Regions from separate parts of the Homo sapiens genome. Here all the other regions are linked to region 2. Evidence: promoter capture Hi-C in human tissues and cell types (Jung and others, 2019). All regions are on one chromosome and are shown on one strand. Each heading gives the region's core, a stretch centred on a gene start or on the middle of the fragment in contact. The rest is flanking DNA. Distances are from core to core; before and after follow the strand shown.

Evidence for each region. Contacts are between HindIII fragments. The study calls those that stand out against the background at their distance.
Region 1: a contact is called between a fragment that was not itself captured here and the fragment with the promoter of THPO in region 2, in 1 of the 25 tissues and cell types used here (thymus).
Region 3: a contact is called between a fragment that was not itself captured here and the fragment with the promoter of THPO in region 2, in 4 of the 25 tissues and cell types used here (IMR-90 fibroblasts, aorta, bladder and 1 more).

The regions. Positions count from the first base shown.
Region 1 is chr3:184,847,358-184,850,057 of GRCh38, reverse strand. VPS8 (VPS8 subunit of CORVET complex) reads right to left here. Exons shown (of 48, transcript NM_001009921.3): 9 at 863-987; 10 at 36-122. Among named protein-coding and RNA genes, the nearest start is that of VPS8, 37 kb to the right of the region's middle. The HindIII fragment of the contact is 4,598 bases long and covers 1-2,700 here.
Region 2 is chr3:184,376,856-184,379,555 of GRCh38, reverse strand. THPO (thrombopoietin) reads left to right here and starts at 1,349. Exons shown (of 6, transcript NM_000460.4): 1 at 1,349-1,481. The HindIII fragment of the contact is 16,052 bases long and covers 1-2,700 here.
Region 3 is chr3:184,829,934-184,832,633 of GRCh38, reverse strand. The region is part of intron 3 of VPS8 (VPS8 subunit of CORVET complex); the gene reads right to left. Among named protein-coding and RNA genes, the nearest start is that of VPS8, 19 kb to the right of the region's middle. The HindIII fragment of the contact is 4,523 bases long and covers 1-2,700 here.

The DNA.
Region 1 (2,700 bases), core at 155-2,654, 470 kb before region 2:
AAAAAATTATTAGGAAAAGAAAATAAAGCTCTTACCTTGATATGCAATATTGCTGTTCCTGGAGGATGAGCATCTGTTATTGATCTTAGAAGTTTTCCACTGGCCAAATCCCACATGGTGATCTATAAGACAACTAAGTGCTTCAAAAACAAATTTATTGCTCTTTTTTTGGACTTAAGTATCCTGCCTTCTGGCTGGAATAATCTATTCCTTGACTATAAACATTGCAGGCAAAGAACTATAAAGTTAAAACATACCTAAAGGTTGCAGATCCATTAAAGCATAGAGCCTTTATTCGATCTTCATTTACCCTTCATCCTGCCCATCCTACTTCTCCCTTTAGATTTTAAATGTTGTTCTCATACTGAGAGACAAAAGATATTTCTCTAATAAGTCAATCTGTTTAGCACTAGTAAAAAGTATCGGAAAGGCTTACTGCCAAACTAGCTAGTGATGTATGAATCAGAAGATAAAAAAACCATAATCTAATGCCAGTTTCAGAAGAAGAAAGAAATGCAAAAATCGTTATCCAGGAACACAGAATCTTTCTAAAAAGCAGCCTCCATTATTTACACGACTGTAAGGAAGTACATTTTATATAACATCCCTGGTTGGTTTACAAAAATTATTTACTCAAATAGACACATGAACTAGGATATAAAAAATTACAGACTCTGGGTCAGTCGATAACAATTATGTAAAATTTTGAACAAGACAAAACTCAGATTCAGCAATCTCTGGTTAGCTCTACAAACATATTACTTCATAACACGTATTTTGGTCTTTGATCTAAGATGTAAGTTTTTGTAAATTCATCTTGTTTTAACATTGTCTTATGAATTAAAGGAGGTTCATATCTTACCTGTCCTTTAGCAAAGCCACAAAGAAGTCTTGAGCAATCATTGTTGATACTGAGGGCAGAGATAGCGCCATACTGACCTCCAACACTAGTGCTACCCAGACAGAGTCGCAAAGCTTGATTCTGATCTAAAGAAAGCAGTTTTTAAAGTCAAGTGAAGGAAATGCAAGAGAGTAAATACATCGAGTACAGGCATGCTTTCAAAGACTTGGGAGGTGACAAGAATCAAAAGCAGCAGATAATGAAGTCACATTCATTTTTAAATATATTTATTGAGCAACTAGCAGATGCTGGGCGTTGAATTAGACACTTAAAAATACAGAAAAAAAAGGCCGGGTGCGGTGGCTCATGCCTGTAATCCCAGCATTTTGGAAGGCCGAGGTGGGTGGATCACCTGAGGTCAGGAGTTCGAGACCAGGCTGGCCAACATGGTGAAACCCCGACTCTACTAAAAATACAAAAATTAGCTGGGCATGGTGGCCCACGCCTGTAGTCCCAGCTACTCCAGAGGCTGAGGCACAAGAATCACTTAAACTTGGGAGGCAGAGGTTGCAGTCAGCTGAGATCACACTACCGCACTCCAGCCTGCACAGCAGAGTGAGACATGGTCTCAAAAAAAAAAAAAAAAAAAAAAGAATACAGGAAAAAAAAAAGATCTACAAGGAAGCATAATAAAAAATGCTAATGATAAGCCAAAAAATCCACATGTAATCTGTATCTCCTTAAACAAACCGTCACCTGTCTCATCCTAGAATTGTATTTCTTGCTATTTTTAAGATGCAAAGTTATCGGGAATACCATCGTCTTTTAAAATAACTATAAAACTTCAAAACTCAAGAAACTTAATTTAGAATTTGGCTGAAATTTACATTTATATTATCCATAAAGAAAATTTACTAAGCTAATTAACGGTGCAAATTACAGAGTAAACATTTAAACAGCTTCAGAAAATTATTTCAAACATCAAAATTTGATATGCTAAAAGTGGCTAGGCACGGTGGCTCACACCTGTAATCCCAGCACTTTGGGAGGCTGAGGAAGGGAAGGTCACTTGAGGTTAGGAGTTCGAGACCAGCCTGGCCAACACAGTGAAACTCCATCTCCACTAATATAAAAAATATAGCCGGGTGTGGTGGTGGGCACCTGTAATCCTAGCTACTTGGGAGGCTGAGGCAGGAGAATTGCTTGAACCCAGAAGGCAAAGGTTGCAGTGAACTGAGATCATGCCACTGCACTCCAGCTTGGGAGACAGAGAAAGACTCCATCTCAAAAACAAACAAACAAACAAACAAAATATGCTAAAAGCAAGCAATTCAAATATCTATTAGATTAAGTTTGTTAAGGGTGATAAGGGCGAGGATCTTGCCTTAATCACCTCTGATTTCTCCAGGAGGCACTCAAATATTTATTAAATTCTGTTATCTAATAATTAAAAGAAATTTCTCTAGGGTTTCTCCTAGGCAATGCTTATTTTGTCTAGAGTTCATTATTATACCCACTTGAAAACAATGAAATTAAAAATTTAAATGTCAGAATGCATGCCTACAAAATTTAACTATTTAGAAAAATGCAAAAAACACCATATTTCCACAACTTGGAGTTTTCGCAACTTCCCCAGCACTGTTTGTGTCTCCCTTAATTATCTACATGTGAATTTTGGGGTATGTCTTACCTCCCCTATTACACTATGACCTCTCTGAGGGCTAAGATCATGAGTGAATTAACACTCCCAAAGCACCTTGCTTAATGCCTTGTGCTTAGAAGGCATCTGACAATCATCTGAATAGCTTTCACATTTGCCAGTTCTCCTTCTATAAAAGTAAATCTAGTTATCAGACACA
Region 2 (2,700 bases), core at 100-2,599:
GCGCCCCCCAAACCCTCACCACCCTCTCTCACTGCCTAGCCTGCCTCCCTACCTTCTCTCTGAGGTCGCTCCTCATTCTTGTGTTACCCAGGACAGGGACCTAGCCAGAAACCGGCAGCATTCCCCCTTCTGTGGAGTGACAGTATCTCCCTCTCATTGTAACTTATCCTCAGGCGCATTCGACAGTCCCCTCTTGCTTTCTCACCCCCTTCCTTCACCCAAGGGACCCTCTGCCTCTCCAGCCCACTCCCAGCCTCCTTTCTCTTGGTTCCCTGGTCATGCCTGCCTCCCTGTCTCCTGTCTCTCCCTCCCACACACACCCACTATCCTCCCAGCTATCCCAGCACCCTCCTTCCTAATCTTGGGAGACATCTCGTCTGGCTGGACGGGAAAATTCCAGGATCTAGGCCACACTTCTCAGCAGACATGCCCATCCTTGGGGAGGAGGAACAGGAGAGAGCCTGAGGAAGTTCTGGGGGACAGGGGGATGATGGGATCAAGGTCAGGCCAGGAAGCCCCTGAGGACAGAGACTGTGGGGAGACTGGGACTGGGAAGAAAGCAAAGGAGCTAGAGCCAGGGCCAAAGGAAAAGGGGGGCCAGCAGGGAGGTATTTGCGGGGGAGGTCCAGCAGCTGTCTTTCCTAAGACAGGGACACATGGGCCTGGTTATTCCTCTTGTCACATGTGGAACGGTAGGAGATGGAAGACGGAGACAGAACAAGCAAAGGAGGGCCCTGGGCACAGAGGTCTGTGTGTGTAGCCATCTAAGCCACTGGACCCCAGCAGACGAGCACCTAAGCTCAGGCTTAACCCAGTGCACGTGTGCGCACATACATGTGCCCCGCACCTGACAGTCCACTCAACCCGTCCAAACCCTTTCCCCATAACACCAACCCATAACAGGAGATTTCTCTCATGTGGGCAATATCCGTGTTCCCACTTCGAAAGGGGGAATGACAAGATAGGACTCCCTAGGGGATTACAGAAAGAAAAGCAGGAAAGCAAGCATCCTGTTGGATTTCAGCAGCAGGTATGATGTCCAGGGAAAAGAAATTTGGATAGCCAGGGAGTGAAAACCCCACCAATCTTAAACAAGACCTCTGTGCTTCTTCCCCAGCAACACAAATGTCCTGCCAGATTCCTCCTGGAAAAAAACTTCTGCTCCTGTCCCCCTCCAGGTCCCAGGTTGCCCATGTCCAGGAAAAGATGGATCCCCCTATCCAAATCTTCTCCGTGGTGTGTGTGGGTGGAGGAGTGGACCCTGGTCCAGGCAGGGGCTCCAGGGAAGAGAAGGCGTCACTTCCGGGGGCCTTCACCAGTGTCTGGTGGCTCCCTTCTCTGATTGGGCAGAAGTGGCCCAGGCAGGCGTATGACCTGCTGCTGTGGAGGGGCTGTGCCCCACCGCCACATGTCTTCCTACCCATCTGCTCCCCAGAGGGCTGCCTGCTGTGCACTTGGGTCCTGGAGCCCTTCTCCACCCGGTGAGTGGCCAGCAGGGTGTGGGGTTATGTGAGGGTAGAAAGGACAGCAAAGAGAAATGGGCTCCCAGCTGGGGGAGGGGCAGGCAAACTGGAACCTACAGGCACTGACCTTTGTCGAGAAGAGTGTAGCCTTCCCAGAATGGGAGGAGCAGGGCAGAGCAGGGGTAGGGGGTGGGGTGCTGGTTTCTGAGGGACTGATCACTTACTTGGTGGAATACAGCACAGCCCTGGCTGGCCCTAAGGAAAGGGGACATGAGCCCAGGGAGAAAATAAGAGAGGGAGCTGCACTTAGGGCTTAGCAAACACAGTAGTAAGATGGACACAGCCCCAATCCCCATTCTTAGCTGGTCATTCCTCGTTAGCTTAAGGTTCTGAATCTGGTGCTGGGGAAGCTGGGCCAGGCAAGCCAGGGCGCAAGGAGAGGGTAATGGGAGGAGGGCCCACTCATGTTGACAGACCTACAGGAAATCCCAATATTGAATCAGGTGCAAGCCTCTTTGCACAACTTGTGAAAGGAGGAGGAAGCCATGTGGGGGGTCCTGTGAAGGAACCGGAAGGGGTTCTGCCAAGGGGGCAGGGAGGCAGGTGTGAGCTATGAGACAGATATGTTAGTGGGCGCCTAAGACAAGGTAAGCCCCTAAGGTGGGCATCACCCAGCAGGTGCCCGTTCCTGGGCAGCTGGTCTCAGGAAGGAAGTCCCAGAACTGTTAGCCCATCTCTTGGCCTCAGATAATGGAGTATTTCAGGACTTGGAGTCCAGAGAAAAGCTCCAGTGGCTTTATGTGTGGGGGTAGATAGGGAAAGAATAGAGGTTAATTTCTCCCATACCGCCTTTTAATCCTGACCTCTAGTGGTCCCAGTTACAGCTTTGTGCAGTTCCCCTCCCCAGCCCCACTCCCCACCGCAGAAGTTACCCCTCAACATATTGCGCCCGTTTGCCAGTTCCTCACCCAGGCCCTGCATCCCATTTTCCACTCTCTTCTCCAGGCTGAAGCCACAATACTTTCCTTCTCTATCCCCATCCCAGATTTTCTCTGACCTAACAACCAAGGTTGCTCAGAATTTAAGGCTAATTAAGATATGTGTGTATACATATCATGTCCTGCTGCTCTCAGCAGGGGTAGGTGGCACCAAATCCATGTCCGATTCACTGAGGAGTCCTGACAAAAAGGAGACACCATATGCTTTCTTGCTTTCTTTCTTTCTTTCTTTCTTTCTT
Region 3 (2,700 bases), core at 155-2,654, 450 kb before region 2:
AGTCAGGCATTAATGGGTTTCTCCAGAGCACACAAGTGCTTATTTCTGCTTTTCGCCTCTATTCCATGCATTCTTATTGACCAGAAAGAAACCATACAGAATTACTAGTATTAAATTCTAGACAGCTATTTCTCTCTACAAAGAAGTCACCCCAAAACTTCTTTCGTGTAGCAGGAAGAAGCAGGAGCAGTATGCAGATTACTGTTAGCTGTAGAATATTTCTTAAAAATCAAGCTTTTACAGATGATTTAGCAGTTAACTAACAGCCAATGGCTAATTTGAAGAAAACAAACACCATCTGACTATAAATAGTCTACTATAAAAAAAAATGACAAGCAGACAGCAGAAAGGCATTCTGGGTAGGAAACAGTGCAGAAAGGCATTCTGGGTAGGAAACAGCACAGAAAGACACAGTGATTTCACAATACAGATTTTGTCCATGGGAAAAGTAGTAGTCCAAAATGTCTGGAGGATATAAGCAGAAGTTGGAGATGACCCTAGAAAGATAAGCTGGTACCCAAACCATGAAAAGCCTTATATGCCATTACACTAGATGGCAGCAGGGCCCATGTCTATCTTGTTCATCATTGTACCTCTAGTGCCTAGTATAATGCCTGACACATAACCAGTACTCATTTAATGAATATTTAGTATACTATATATAGCAGGCAGTGGGAAGGCAACTGACATTTTTAAGAAGTGGAAAGACATGATGGGAACCATGTTTTAAAAAGATAGGTGGGGCAGTATGAAGAATGGATGAGGCGAGACAAGAAGACTTTAAGGACCAGTAAGAGGGCTATTGCACTATCAAGGAAAAACGGGAGATCCCAACCTAAGAAGCTGCAGAAGAAGTCAACAGAGGGAATGATGAACACATTACGGAGAAAAAATCAAACGTCTCTGGTTACCATTGAAATGGGGGGTTGAGTAGGAGTACGGATGGGAGGAGAGGTAAGGGAGAAGTCACAGAAGAGTACAAGGTTTCCAGCTTCTACAACCAGGTAAAAGGTGACTCTACTCACTGAAATTAGAAAGCAGACAAATGGCAGATAAAGCAGGATGAGGAACTTGGCTTTGCCCAAGTTGATTCTGAGTGACAAACATCAGAGAACAATGTCTCACCGTCTCTTTCAGCTGCACTACCTTCTGCCTTACCACTTCCAATCAATGTACTTGAGAGATTAATGTCTACTCACTACCTCGATCCACTCATTACAAGCTCCTACCGACCTTGCTGATGCTACTAGCCAAATCCACTGGCCTGCTTTCTGTTAGCATGTTCTTGTTCTCCAGGCATCATTTAATCCTGTTGACCATTCCCTGTCACCCAGGCCGGTGTGCAGTAGCACAATCACAGCTCACTGCAGCCTCAAATTCCTGGCCTCAAGCAATCTTCCACTCCAGCCTCCAAGAAGCTGGGACTACAGGTGCATGCCACCACGCCTGGCTCATTCACTACATCTCGAAGCTTTCTTTTCCTTTAGTTTTCGGTACATCTCTCCTTCCTGGTTCTCCGCTAACTTATGTGTCCTCCTATTAGTCACATGCTAGCTTCTTCTCAGCCCAACCTTTAAATACGATTGTCCCCCAGGATTATATTCTAAGCTCTCATCTTCTCTTCCTACTTCATGGACTTCCTATTTGAGTAAGCTCATCCATATCTATAGCTTTAAGAACCATGTTATCTAATGACTCCAAAATCTGTGTCTTTAGCATCAACATTTCTCAAGGTTTAGGTCCAAATTTACCATTGCTTTCCAGATATCTCTACACATAGGTCTTCTAAAAAGAGGGTTAGGACTGGCAATAAGACATTATGTTGCTTAAGTGCTATAAAGATTGGAACGATTGCTGTAGGAAAAGGGAAGGAAATAATTCAGAAATAAATACAGCAGCATCAAGATCTTAAACAAGAGAGTCAATCAAAATGTTATTTGATTTTCTTAAAAAGCCTGGGGACATAATTAAAGAAAATGGATCAGATGAATTAAGCCAGGCTTACAGGATAAGTGAAAGAAAAAGTGAAGGGAAAAAAAGAAGTGAAGATGTCAAGACTGAATTTAAAACTACTGCTACACAGTAAAAGTATCAATTATCCCCAAACTGATGTGAAAAAAACTGCACAATCCTTTCAAATTTCAGCTGATTTGTGTGTGTGTGTGTGTGTGTGTGTGTGAACTGATAAACTAATTCTAAAACTTACATGAAAATGCAAAAAAATAAATAAATAAATAAGGCAATCTTGAAGAATAACATCAAAGCTGGAAGATTTTAAACTACCAGATATCAAGACCTATTATAAAGTTTCAATCACTAGAATGTGAGATCGAGGCAAGTATGGACACACCAATGGACTCAGATCCACACCTATATGATTACCTGATTTATAACAAAGGTGACACCAGATGAGAATACTCTTTTTAGTACATGGTGCTGGCTCATAGCTCACACTATCACACCCAAAAAAAATTCCAGATGAATTACAGATCTACATATGAAAGGAACAACAATGAAGATTTTAGAACAAAATAGGGTAACATCATCATAACATCAGAATTGGAAAAATTTTCTTAAATAGGACACACACACGCACACGAATGGAAAATTTTAATAAGCTGAACTATATTAAGAACTTGTGCTCCTCAAAAGAAACCATTAATAGAGTGAAAAGGTAATGTACAGAAAGAAAGAAGATAA